Regions from separate parts of the Homo sapiens genome. Here region 2 is linked to region 1. The links are contacts of gene promoters, found by promoter capture Hi-C in blood cells and fetal thymus (Javierre and others, 2016). All regions are on one chromosome and are shown on one strand. The core of a region is centred on a gene start or on the middle of the fragment in contact, and the rest is flanking DNA. Distances in the headings are between cores, read along the strand shown.

What was found. Contacts are between HindIII fragments. The CHiCAGO score rates a contact against its expected background, and 5 or more counts as called.
Region 2: a contact is called between a fragment that was not itself captured here and the fragment with the promoter of TENM2-AS3 in region 1, in 1 of 17 cell types (monocytes). The highest score is 5.1, in monocytes.

What each region holds. Positions count from the first base shown.
Region 1 is chr5:167,948,894-167,956,138 of GRCh38, forward strand. It overlaps TENM2-AS3 (TENM2 antisense RNA 3), which reads right to left and starts at 4,722. Exons shown (of 3, transcript XR_941186.3): 1 at 4,499-4,722; 2 at 1-25. It overlaps TENM2 (teneurin transmembrane protein 2), which reads left to right. Exons shown (of 31, transcript NM_001395460.1): 6 at 3,695-3,929. The HindIII fragment of the contact is 3,808 bases long and covers 4,141-7,245 here.
Region 2 is chr5:167,689,317-167,696,561 of GRCh38, forward strand. All of the region lies in intron 4 of TENM2 (teneurin transmembrane protein 2), which reads left to right. Among named protein-coding and RNA genes, the nearest start is that of TENM2-AS4, 33 kb to the left of the region's middle. The HindIII fragment of the contact is 6,342 bases long and covers 1-5,737 here.

The sequences.
Region 1 (7,245 bases), core at 3,472-5,971:
CAGAAGGGCTTTTCATGTATTTTGGCTTTTTGGAAAGCAAGAGGGCATGTTGTCAGCATTGTTTGCATTTTTGAAACAGAAAACCTTCCCACCCAGCAAGTGTGTTGGATGACTGTAGTGAAAAGTGATAAATGCAAAAAGGTGCTTGTGATCATTTGTTGTAGCAGAGGTGCTTCATACTAGAGGTACGTTACTGATACTGAATACCAAGGCACCCGAGTGAAACTAGGAGTCAAAAACATACTATTAGGCGTCAGTAACATAAATACATACAGCCAGCTAAATTACGAGAACAGGGATCGCTAGGGTTGATGGCAAATCAGATAAGCCACCCCACCCCTCACAGCATTCAGCTCTATCCAGTTGTTTTGAGGGGATACAGACTCCATATTTTGGGTTTGGTTTTGCTTTCAAGAGAAGTCAGAAATCTGGAACACTATGCAAAATCTCAACTTTGAATTTTTGATAATATTCAGCTTGAGGGCTGTCAGTCTGTGACATCTGCCCTAGATAGATGAAATTTGGATTTAATTTTCCTACTCAAATCTGGGGTCCCTGAGAGCTGCAGTTATGTCTTATCCATCCTTTCATCCCTGAAAGAACCCATCACTGTTCTCTACACTTGGTTTTCGGGGACTTGCCAACCATCAGGCAGCATGCTTAGCACTTTACATTCATCCTTCCTCTCTAACTTTCACAGCAACCTTAGCGGGTAGTTACTGCTGTTTTCACCAGTTGGCAGATGAGTAAGCTGAGAATGAAAGAAATGAGGTAGCACGCCCAGGTTCACACAACTAGAAAGTGGCAGACTCAATTCTTGAACCCAGTTCTGTAGATTTTATCTCCTAACCTCTAGCTAAATGCCCCTCCTAGATGTTCCCACATTCCTCTGTATATATCCCAGGGGTCACATTTACCACTCTGTATTGTAATTGTCTTTTCCTTCTGTCTCCTGCACCTCGTTGGGAAATATGACTGCAGGATAGATAGACAAATGAGCAAATATAATCAATGCCGTGGTGAAAATGAGCAACAGTTAGGAGGAGAATGTCTTCCAATACCGAGAACGCTGGATAATTTTTGTTTTTGTTGCTGTCAATAATTTGATCTATCTGCAATGAAATATCATCTTGCTTTATAGGAGGGCTGGGTGAGCGGAGAATTAAGTATTCTTCCATCTTCCCTTACTCTTCCTTCTCCATTTCCCCCAGGAAGCTCTAGGCTTTCTCATTAGGATAAATGAAAAGAGAACTTGACCTCTCTTCTAGTTAACTGGAAAACTCCCAATTCATTTTATTTGGAACATAACACATGGCACCCAGGTCGGTGCTTCTCTTCCCCCTGGGGACCAGCCCTGGATATTGTCAGCACACAAGCAACCGCAGGAATTCTGCCCACGCATAACACAGATGGACCTCACAAGGGCCACACAAGCTGGAGTAGATAAGGAGAACTTAGCTCAGAGTGAATACACAGGAAGGAGGAGGGTCTGGTATCTCATTTAGGGAATTAAATCCTTTATATGGCCTCTTTGTACTTTAGAAGAGTGTGTGGTCTGGAGAGGGGAGGGTGGGGGGCCAGGACAGAGGGAGATGGAAAGTTAGGACTTAGGGCTGGGGAGGGCAGGTTCTCACTTGTGCACTGACCCGCCCCATCTTCCTGAGGCAAGTCTCGTAATTACCTAACTAATGGGGAATAATGACACCACTTGGATGGGAGTTGAGAGAGGGGGAAAGAAAGGCATGAGAATTCATTAACCATGTGTGAGGGGCTTGGATAGCATCCCTGAAGGATCATTATTACATCATTTCACCCCCCTTTCCCACCTCTTTCCACTAATATGAGACAGACAAATGCTAAATAACTATGTAATAATACATTACTAGACAGACAACAATGCCAGAAAATATAATAGCCTGCTACAGCTATGAAACTCTCCCAAAGATATATTTAAAATGTCACTGATGCATAATGTAAAATAGGAATTACAGGTTCATTTGGAGGACATGATTTAAAATCTATACAACTGTACAGTGGTATTTCCCACTGGGTTTTTGTTGTCACTGTCCTTTTCTAAACATCACAAAGAAAACAAAAATCACCCAAATAATTTCAGCCTAGAGATGCGAACTTCAAGGAACCTGTTTCCTCCACATTTTTCCTTCTTGTTTTTGTTGGTCAGGATGCTCTCCAAACCTAGTATCTTCTTGACATGTTGTCTTTTCTTCAGAATGTTTCTGCAGCCTGCACAGGAACCCCAGAATGTAGATTACACCTTTTGGAGATGTAGCCCGGCCACATAAGGAGACAAGTAGTTGAAATTTGTGTCAAATTGCTTGTTTAAATGACTTGAGCCAACTTCTTAAAGCCAGGACAGCAGGGGCTGAGGATTTTTAAAGTTGGCAGGGGCCAAAAATGACAAGGCTCAGCAGTCACCTGGTGAGCTGCCAGCCCTGACTGGAAGCTTCAAAAAATAAAACTTTCTCAAAGGACACAAATTAAAAGTCATGTTTCAGCATCCATTAAAACGAAATTATAGGCTTCATCGCATAGCAAACTACTTTCATTTTCATTATGCTTAAAATATTTCATTTTGTAGATTGAGAATCGGTTGCTAGGAAAACCTTGTGTGGAGTTGTCAGAGACAGCGATATCTACAAGGGGATATTTTCCAAGGGAGAGCTCTCCTTTGTTTTTCCTGCAAGGATAGAGGATTTTGTTATTTAAAAAAACGCAGGATGCAATTTGGAGTCGGGGTCATGGCTTGAAAACATCTGCCATGACCTTCTCCAGAGACCGAGTCCTCAGGGTTCATCTCTCAGAGGAAAGAAGTTAGCAACCTGCTGAGCTGAGTGGGCTCACAGGTGTGTTTTGTTCACTCTCATTTTAAAATAGATATATATGTGTATATTACACATATACACATATATACACACATACATACGCAAATATGTGTGTATACACACATACATACGCAAATATGTGTGTATACACACATACATATATATAAATCTCATTTTGAATTGTCAACATTTTTAAAAACTAGGAAATTTTATCTACAAGTCCAGATTTCCAGCTTTTCTAGAGAAATTAGAAATTACGGCTGCCTTGAGCTCTCTCCCTCATTCCCACGTGATCAAATTGACCTGGTGCTGAGTGAGGGCTGCCCCCTAGTCTCTTCACCTCAACTCAGTCCTTAGCTAGCCCACTCCACCTTCCTGCCTAGTCCCTATAGGTATTTAAAGGTACTATTCCCTGACTTAGAGTGTTCCATATTCTTAATATCTTCAAAAGATGAAATTTTTGAAAAGAATGTGTGCAGTATACCAGTTTACCTGGAAAGGGAATAGGGACTTGCTACGCCAGCGATCAGCCTTGAATGTCATGTTACTTTCATTGCAGTATTAATATGTTTCAAATAATTCCTCTGGTCAGCCCTTATCCACCTGGTTTTGCTAAATTAGTTTCTCATTATTCTTCATTTGATGCGTGTGGATAAATGCAAATCAAAGCCCATTATTTATTTGTAACTGACTCTGGGATGCCTGCCGCAGTCTTATCTGTCGCTCTAGCTTGCAGCTTTCAGCAATTGTCAGCTTAGAGACTTTGGTTTGAAACTCTCCTCCAGTGGTTTGCAGAGTGCCTGAGACTGGAATTTGCAGACGCTAACAGTCATTTCTCCTTTTTTTTTCAGGCCCTCCGAACCACCACAGCCAGTCGACTCTGAGGCCCCCTCTCCCACCCCCTCACAACCACACGCTGTCCCATCACCACTCGTCCGCCAACTCCCTCAACAGGAACTCACTGACCAATCGGCGGAGTCAGATCCACGCCCCGGCCCCAGCGCCCAATGACCTGGCCACCACACCAGAGTCCGTTCAGCTTCAGGACAGCTGGGTGCTAAACAGCAACGTGCCACTGGAGACCCGGTAAGTCCCCATCGCCAGCTCACAGTCACACTCAGTGTCACCTTACCCCTGAGTCACCACACAGAGCCACTGGGTGTCTCAGAGTTCCAGTCGGAGAGACCCTCTGGGTATAAATAATGAGACAAGTTTACCACCTCCTTGTTCCCTTGGTAATTTGACCCTGGACAGTAGGTTGACAGGTATTTCTTCGTTCACATGTGTCTCCTTTTAAAGCTTGTTTACTTTCTCGGATAGCTCTTGTGTACCCAACTAATAGAATTAGCATAACATATTTTTACTCGAAGGCTCATGGGAAACATGCTTATAAGGGTATATTGACTGAAAGCTGCTGATAAATTATGCATTTGGCCTTTCTTGAAGTAATAAATGAAGACTCATTTGAAATTAAGTGTTTGGGGAGACCTTGAGAAACAATCCCTGATTCCAAACTGACAGAAGTATAATTTAAATTTATATTTCATCCAACATGCAGTCTCACTTTAATCCCTCCTGTACACACTAACAGCTTGATGCCTGTGGGGCAAACGGTAATGTATAAAAACAAACAAGAAAAAAGGGGCAGCACTTACGTGAGGAGGGAAGAGTTTGAAAATGATCTCCAGGTCTGGCTTTGTTTTGTGTAGCCTTTGCTTCTGTCCTTTTTTCACCTTCGATTCTGTTCTCCAAAACCATATACACCTTAATGATCTGAAAGAAGACCTGTCAGTCAGGGTATGGAGGGGCTGGAATGTCACTGACAGTGAAGGCTCTGTGTGGGTTGGCCAGACTCTGAAACAGCCTTGCTGCTCTATCCCCAGGCACATTCTTGGTTTGTGTGTTTCAAATGCTATTGTTTCCTTGTCTAGAAGAACCATGGAGACGGAACAGAGAGGAGGGCTAATTCATACTGACCCTTCATAAAGTTCCCAAATAGATTTTAAACTTTAATAACTTAGGTTTGAGGAAAGACAGAAATAATCTGTAATGTTTCTGATAATGGCCAGTGAATTCTCTTCACACAGCTGGAAGCAATTTTGAAAGTAGCATTTGGAGTTGTTTCTTACCTATAATTTTTTTGTTTTTTTATAAGATCCTGAAAATTAATATGTTATACATCTTTGTCACTATAATCACTCCAAACTTTTAATTTTATTTTCTGACAATTATAGGATTTTTAAAGAATTTTTGCTTTATTAAGAGAAACTAAAAGAATGAACCTAAGCTAATAAATATCCTTGATCTCAACATTAGTTTAAAAGAATTGGTACAGAAATAAATAAAATGACACAAAATGAAGCACTAAGCCAAATACAAAGGGTGCTGCATTATTATTATTTTCCTCTGCAAAAAATACCTAACGTGTGTGCACACACACACTCACTCACACACACACACACACAAACAAACACACACACAGGCTCTCACACAAAGAATGGTTACATAACAAAGTAAACGTTATAACAACCACATCTGTTTGACTCTTAATCCAAACTAACACGAAAAATCTGTCAAGACAATTGGGGTAATTTAAACACGGATTGGGTATTTAATGATATTAAGAATATAATTATAATTTTATTAGGTGCAGTTTTGGCATGCATGTTTGGTTCAAACATTAAAAACATTCCAATTGAGGAATGAAAAGCTACGTATCGGGTATTATGCTTTTTTAAAATTTATTATAGTTTAAGTTCTGGGATACATGTGCAGAACGTGCAGGTTCGTTACATAGGTATAAACATGCCATGGTGGTTTCCTGCACCCATCAACTGGTCATCTATATTAGGTATTTCTCCTAATGCTATCCCTCCCCTAGGCCCCTGCCCCCTCACAGGCCCCAGTGTGTGATGTTCCCCTCCCTGTGTCCATGTGTTCTTATTGTTCAGCTCCCACTTATGAGTGAGAACATGTGGTGTTTGGTTTTCTGTTCCTGTGTTAGTTTGCTGAGGATGATGGTTTCCCGCTTCATTCATGTCCCTGCAAAGGACATGAACTCATCCTTTTGTTATGGCTGCATAGTATTCCATGGTGTATATGTGCCACATTTTCTTTATCCAGTCTATCATGGATGGGCATTTGGGTTGGTTCCAAGTCTCTGCTATTGTGAATAGTGCTGCAATAAACATATGTGTGCATGTGTCTTTATAGTAGAATGATTTATAATCCTTTGGGTTCATACCCAGTAATGGGATTGCTGGGTCAAATGGTATTTCTGGTTCTAGATCCTTGAGGAATCACCACACTGTCTTTCACAATGGTTGAATCAATTTACACTCCCACCAACAGTGTAAAAGCATTCCTATTTCTCCACATCCTCTCCAGCATCTGTTGTTTCCTGACTTTCAATGATCGCCATTGTAACTGGCATGAGATGTTATCTCATTGTGGTTTTGATTTGCATTTCTCTAATGATCAGTGATAATGAGCTTTTTTTCATATGGTTGTTGCCCACATGAATGTCTTCTTTTGAGAAGTGTCTGTTCATATCCTTCACCCAATTTTTGATGGGGTTGTTTGTTTTTTTCTTGTAAATTTGTTTAAGTTCCTTGTGGATTCTAGATATTAGCCCTTTGTCAGATGGATAGATGGCAAAAATTTTCTCCCATTCTATAGATTGCCTGTTCTCTCTGATTATAGTTTATTTTGCTGTGGGGAAGCTCTTTAGTTTAATTAGATTCCATTTGTCAATTTTGGCTTTCTTTGCCATTGCTTTTTGTGTTTTTGTCATGAAGTCTTTGCCCATGCCTATGTCCTGAATGGTATTGCCTAGGTTTTCTTCTGGGGTTTTTATGGTTTTAGGTTTTGTGTTTAAGTCTTTAATCCATCTTGAGTTAATTTTTGTATAAGGCATAAGGAAGTGTTCCAGTTTCAGTTTTCTGAATATAGCTAGCCAGTTTTTCCAACACCATTTATTAAATAGGGAATCCTTTCCCCATTGCTTGTTTCCATCGGGTTTGTCAAAGATCAGATGGTTGTAGATGTATGGTGTTATTTCTGGGGCCTCTGTTCTGTTCCATTGGTCTATATATCTGTTTTGGTACCAGTACCATGCTGTTTTGGTAAATGTAACCTTGTAGTATAGTTTGAAGTCAGGTAGCGTGATGACTCCTGTTTTGTTCTTTTTGCTTAGGCTATATCACTTGGCCGTATGGGCTCTTTTTTGGTTCCATATTAAATTTTAAGTAGTTTTTTCTAATTCTGTGAAGAAAGTCAATGGTAGCTTGATGGGGATAGCATTGAATCTATGAATTACTTTGGGCAGTGTGGCTATTTTCACTATATTGATTCTTCCTATCCATGAGCATGGAATGTTTTTCCATTTGTTTGTGTCCTCTCA
Region 2 (7,245 bases), core at 1,317-3,816, 260 kb before region 1:
CCATCCGAGCTTTTCTGCATCCTGCATAAATGGGCATGAATTAGTTTCTTCACTGTGTCCAGTCATTGGCAGAGAACAGACCTAGGAACCTCAGTACACACACAGTAGTGGATCTGAAGGGGATAGCCAGTATGGCCCTCCATCAACTCTGTTCCCACAGCCAGAGATCCGAGGAGTGCATTTTCATGGTCACCAAAAATCTCAACACAAAAAAATGAAATGATCACCGAATTCATTTATCTCTGCATGTCTTTTTAAAGAAGAAAATACAATATTTAAAATGGCCTTTTCTCCCCTAATGTCTCCATTGGTCTAGCAGGCATGGCTTGCACTGCAGAAGACTAGCGTAGCTGGAATAGTAGGTCCCGTTTATGCTAAATTCTATCAGTGAAGGGAAAGGGGAGAGTCCTGAACACTGTTCTTACCTCTTCATCTGTTCTTTTTTTTCTTTTTTTCTTTTTTTGAGATGGAGTCTCGCTCTGTCTCCCAGGCTGGAGTGCAATGGAGCAATTTTGGCTCCTACAATCTCCACCTCTTGGGTTCAAGCGATTCTCCTGCCTCAGCCTCCTGAGTAGCTGGGATTACAGGCGTGAGCCACCATGCCCAGGCTCTTCATCTCCTCTTAAACTCTCAGAGACTCTGCTGCTGCTGTTAATTTTGCTTTCAGTGTGAAGGGTTCTTTTGGTTTGCCATAATTTTGGGCCCATGACCCGGGAACTTCACCTCCTATTTGAAAAGAAAATCATCTGGGAATGGAAGAGGCGAAATTTAGGAAAAAAACACACTTTTTTTTTTTTTTTTTTTTTTTTTTAGTAATTCAAACCCCAAAACATATTTTGAGGGGCAGAAGGAAAAATAATTAATGCTGTATATGATCACTTCCTACATGTCAAGCCATTATATTGTTATCATCCTTAATTCTTAAACTCTTTTGAGACAAGTAAAGTTATATTTTTATTTACTTTTATGTATTTTTTTTTAAGTTTAACAGAAGAGGAAAGTGAGGTTCAGAAAGATCTGGTGACTTTTTATTGGCACACAATGAGAAAGAACAGATTGGGGTTTTTTCCCTGTTTTTCTTGAGTTGGTATACAGAGTAGATTTGCCAAAGAGCTCCTCAGTTATGCCAGTTACTTTACTTATTTGGGAAGGACTTCTCATATTTATACAGATATCTTTCTTCACATCCTGAAAAGGGCACTGAACAGAGAGAGCTGCATGCTATTACCATTTTTTGCGACTAAATACTTGTGTGGCTGTGAATTAGTTATCCAGGCCTTGGTTTTTTCATCTGTAAAGAAAGGAGATTGGGTTAGATAACATTTATCAAACTTCAGCCATTTTCCATTTTCTATCACCTTGATTTCTGTCCCATCTTTAATGCCACCTATAATATATTGCTTGATATTTTATTTAAAATAATTCCTCCTTGCAACTTAAGTGTCTTTAAAATAAAAACATTTTGTCACCGCTTAAAAGGAAATACCAGTATAAACAAGTAAAATTACACACACGCAATCACACACACATATATGTTTGTATATATGTATGTACGTATATATTCGTATATATGTATATATTTGTATATATATCCGTATATGCGAGTATGTGTGTGTGTGTGTGTGTGTGTGTGTGTGTGTGTGTGTGTGTGTGTAGAGAGAGAGAGGAATATAAGCAATGAAATGCTAGGAACAAACTGAGACTTTCTCCTTAATATAACCAGAAACTTTGAAGACAAATTGAAAACAAAGTATTTCTAATGAAAATGTTCTGGAGACCCAAAGTTGTTTGACACTTTGTCACACTTAGTATCATTTTCTGGGCAACCAATGTCTTATACTGTGTCAGACACTGGAAAAACATGACTTATATATTCTGTCTCACACACTTGTGATTTTCCTCCCTGCCCCACCCCAACCTTCATTTACCTTTGGCCTCATTTTGCCTCATCCTTCCAATTGCAAAATTTGTAAGGACCATCTCTCCTCTGACTGCAGAAATACTCTCTGCATCTTGGCTCATGAGTAGAAAAAAATAAGACCTGGAACAAATAAGAACAATTTCTTCCTGTTCTTCTGGGAAGTTTCAAGGGAAGGAAGTAGACAGAGCTCGATAGTCTGGGTAAAGCCTGAGGCAAGTCACACTGTGTCTTCCACCAGCAGGTGTTTACCCAGTTAAGATCAGTTTAAATTGAATAGTGTGCAAATGAAGATGGAGTTTTCCCTTATATCCCATTTCTCCAATCTTATTGTGCCAGTCTGCCTTCCCCGCTTCTGTCCCTCAGCAATCACCACCAGAAAATTGTCCTTCACTACATATTCCTTGATGGTATTTTAGAAAGAGTAGGGTCATTGCGCTCAAACAGAACTTGGTTCAAATCCCAACTCTCCCTGACTTCAGGGAAGAGACGCTGTGGCTCCTGGTGGTTAGGAGAACTGGGAGTTCTCCAGGAGAGTCTTCAGGAAATTGATGGACAAGGGGGATCTCGCTGGCAGGGGAAAGAGAAGTCAGAGGAAGAGAGGTTGGGGGCATAGCCCTGGTCCCAAACCAGTTGGCTTTTGCAGAGGGTAAGTGATACACAAAAAACTATCTTAAGTAGTTTGGACCTGAGATCTGAAGTTGCCCGTGTGGTTAAAGTCTCACCTATTTTTTAGCACCATTTGCGGGAGAGGAGTACCTCCTTCTTGACCCTCTGCCTTGCTACCAAACCCTCTGCCTTCCTGAATAATTGCTTGATAGCCTTCTCTTTCTTCCTGCCCTCTTTGCCACCCCGGAATACCACTACCTGAAATGATCTCATTTCTGCCTATGTCTACTTGCTTAGTGCTGGTCTCCCCTCACTATAATGTAAAGTTCATAGGACAGACCTTATCTGCCCTGTTCACAAGTTGTTCTCAGGGTCTAGAACAGTGCTGGCAAATAGTATTAGGTCAATAATTATTAAAAAGGTCAAATGAATTGGCCGAAGGCAATTGCCCCCATTCACTCTAACTTAGTAAATTAGTTCCTAATTCTGGCTGTGCACTACTGTCACCTGAGGCTTTATTGGAAACACAGTTTCCAGATCATCACCCCTGGACAGTCTGATTCCATTTGTTTGGGGTGAACCTGAGGAATCTGTATTTTTAATTAACATCTCAGGCATTTTGGACACAGCCAGTGCCTGGACTGATAGGTGGGAATTACTCCCACAGGAAATGTTACTGAAAACAGAACTTTATTATCAGCATCACCTAAACCACATTTCTTATGTTACAGACTATAAATTAAATATATATGCATGACTTTAAAAATATATACCTCCAAGCCACTTCCAGTTTGTGTATGTGCTTCTGGCAGAAGCAATTGTATTTATTCATACCCTGTATCCAATAAGGTAGGGAGACCCAGCTGTTCAAGCAGGTGCCTCCTTCCCAAGAAAAAGATAGATCGATTAGATTAACAATTAAGTGGTGAACTGTTGAGAGGTTGCCCAAATGGCCTTTGGGCTTTCTTCTAGAATGGCATCAATGCACAGTAGAATTGTGGCAGATGGACGATAGTGTTGCATATGCACTCATGCTGGGAATGAGGCCATTTTGAGCTCCTCCACTGGTCCCTCAAAGGGCTGCCTGGTCGGCTTGATGGCTTGAGTTGGCAGTAGGGAGTAACAACTGAGAGCCCGAGCTTTAGAGACAAACAGCCCTGGGTCTGAATCACAGAATGGCCACTGATTAAAGGGCATTTTACATAGCCTTTGCGAGAGCCTCGTATGTTTCATCTGTAATTAGGAATGCTGTTCTCTAATTCATTGGTTTGTGCTGAGCTATTAGTAGAGTGTGGCTGGCATTCTGTATATACGATGCTCAATAAATGCAAATATCATAACCTCTGGGAAGACTGACTTATACCATTCCACTGCCGCAATTGCCGTACCAAATCTCCAAAGACTAAGAAATCTGCCCCTATTGGTCAATAGAGGGGCTAGGCAAAAGTGTTTGGTTGGTCATGGAAAATTGAGGATAATGGAACTTTAATATGTTAAAAAAATTCCTTCTCCAAATTTCATTTGACACTTGCTATATGAATAGTTAGGATTTAATGAATACCTTTTTATAGAGTTACATAATTTTCCTGTAAGATGCATTGGGTTTCCAGAAGAATGTTGAACTTGATTCAATTTTAGCTTGATTCGGGCTATTCAAAATTTATTTCCTGAGGAATAGTCTCATTGGATAAACTTAGGAGTTGTTACTGGAAGACTGGGTAACTGTCATAATGCCAAACATCGGTGCTCCTCTCCCTCACTGTTACCTAAATTTTAAGAAATTTCTAGGCAAAAAAAAAAAAAAAAACCACTTGATTAAGGCAGAGGTTATTAAGTATGGGCAAGAGTGAAGGGCCTGGAGTTGATAGTGGAAAAAATATAGCTTAGGGAATTTCATACCCAGAAGCAAAACCAATATGTACATAGATCTTAATGCTGTGTTTCACTTACAGTTCAGAGTCCACTGCCTTGCCTAGCATGTTCAAGATGTTGTAGTGCCACCATCACTGTATATGAAGGCTAATTACTTGGAATATTCCTTACTGGGTATAAGTGTTCCCCAAAGATTTAGCTTAAGGATGGAACTCAAGAGCCCAGCACAATCATTCCTTTTAACTATTTAAAATATATTTTGGATGCACAACAGACTAATTGATTGAATGCACTTTTCACAATTCCACTTATCTAAGATTTTTAGAAAGGCACCAGAAATCTCAAGTTGAGATTTTAGTATTATCAGAAATGTACAAAAATCATCAGCCTCCTAAATCGACATCTTGCTTGAGTTCCTCTATTCACTCTACCTCCTCTGCACTTATCCAGCTCAATTTCTCATCCCAAGTGAGCCCATTTAACATCTTGTGGCTATCAACTTACAAGGTAAGACAGTAAGAGAGGGCTGGTTCTCAATTATGGCCTTATGTTGGAAGCACCTGGGGATCTCTACAAAACTGGGATCCTGATTGAATTGGTCAGGGTGTGGCCTGGAACTCAGGCTGTTAAGAGCTTCCCAGGTGATTCTCATCCACAGCCCAGGTTCTGAACCAATATTTAAAATAGCAGAGCATCCCTTAAAATAGCAGAGCATCCCTTTCCCCAGGACTAGAGGTGACTCAGCTGTATTTTCTGTGCCTGTGTTTGACGAATTAGTTGCAAATTATATTCCTGCTTTTACATAGTAATTAAAACAGTCATGTTTTCATGGGAGGTTCCTTCATGCTGAGCCTATCCACTCTGTCATTTCTTTGCTTCCTTAGTATGTTGTCTTTTAAATGAGCTTAGTGGAAAAAGTCTGGTTGGTGCATTCTGAGCCTGCTAATCATTTCTTTCCTTTCCCATCCTTTTGAGAATCGGGCCCCAGCTCTTAATCTCTTGGTGTGCATGAATAGTTCTCATTAGTTGTGGTAAGTGCGTTAAGTGAAACTAACTATAGAAGCTCACTGAAACTGGACCGTGTAATCACATTGTTCATCAGAAGGGATTTTAATGTTTACATGCAGAAAAAAAAATTGTCATCACAAGTAGATAAATAGCCCATTATTTTACACTTGAGTTGGTACAGCAGGAGCAAACAGCCACCAAACTACTTCTGTTGACATTCCAGTTGAGCTGCACATAAGAGACATGTGGATGTATCCTGTATATTCTCAGACAACATTCATCTACTCTTGCTTCTGATGTCATTTCCCAATGGGGTAAATATGTCTCTGAAGCTTTATTCCTCCTTTGTGGGAATCGGATCCCCAGTTTTTAGCCATGCTTATTCACAGAGCAGAATTTTCCAGAGTATGGGAGCTACACATACCATAGGCACAGCACCTGCAGTGGCATTAAATAAGTTGGGTCACATAATGAGGGGTAGGCAAACTTTATCTGTAAAGGACCAGATAGTAAGTATCTTAGGCTTTGCAGGCCATGAGGTCTCTGTTGCTACTACTCAGTTCAGCCATTTTAGCACTAAAGCAGCTGTAGGTAAAACGTAAGGAATGGGTGTGGCACCAAAAAAACTTTTATGCACACTGAAATTGGAATTTCATATAATTTTACATGTGAAATGTTATTCTTCTTTTGATATTTTTAGCCATTAAAAAAATATAAAACTCCTTCTTAACTCTAGTTTGTATAAAAACAATCCTTGGGCCAGTTTGCAGACTCCTGCCATTGGAGGAGTCTCAGTGGGATGCTAGACTTTAATGCCTCTCTAAAACATATGAATTTTACATTTTAACAGAGGGAAAGGGTTCAGGTTTGTCTCTGAATCAGACAAAAATAGTTAGCTGGAAATAAAGCATATTGTGTTGAACTTTTTACATTTTATTTTAAACATTTTATTTTACCCTCTATCTGTGGCTACTAAGTGAATTTCTACTTAGAATGGTGATTTAAAAAAAAAAAAAACAAAACAGAATTGGCTGGGTGCGGTGGCTCACGCCTGTAATCCCAGCACTTTGGGAGGCCGAGGTGGGCGGATCACGAGGTCAGGAGATCGAGACCATCCTGGCTAACATGATGAAACCCCGTCTCTGCTAAAAATACAAAAAATTAGCCAGGTGTTGTGGCGGACACCTGTAGTCCCAGCTACTGGGGAGGCTGAGGCAGGAGAATGATGTGAACCTGGGAGGTGGAGCTTGCAGTGAGCCGAGATTGCACCACTGCACTCCAGCCTGGGCGACAGAGCAAGACTCCGTCAAAAAAAAACAAAAAAACAAAAAAAAAACAACAACAACAATTGATTTACAAACAAAAATATTAAGTAAAGAAGAGGCCAGGTGATACATGGCTATGATGAAAATCATGAGGTGATATTTATGATATTTGAAGGGTTGGTATTTGGGAATCTGCTGTCCAGGTTTGATTACCTGTGAGTGTTTTTTCCTTGGGAGGAATATCTGTAGTTCTGAAAAAAGTAGCTTATTATTTTTTCACTACAACTTATGATATTATAAAAATTTAAAAAGAGCCCCTGATGAAACATACACATTTCCTCTGATACTTTCATCAAAGCCAGCCAAGGTATAAAAACCAAGGTAAAGTAAGGTTAAAACTTGTGATGAGTCCTGAAATGCATAGAACAATAGTAGTTCCATTGTCTCCCTTCACAGTCTGTGGATTTCATGTAGTTCTCTGCCACACTTTTTATCTCAACACTTCACATGTTTTTACTGAAGGATCAGGAGCTCACTTATTTATCGTTCTCTAAAATGGTGAGCCTCCCTTTT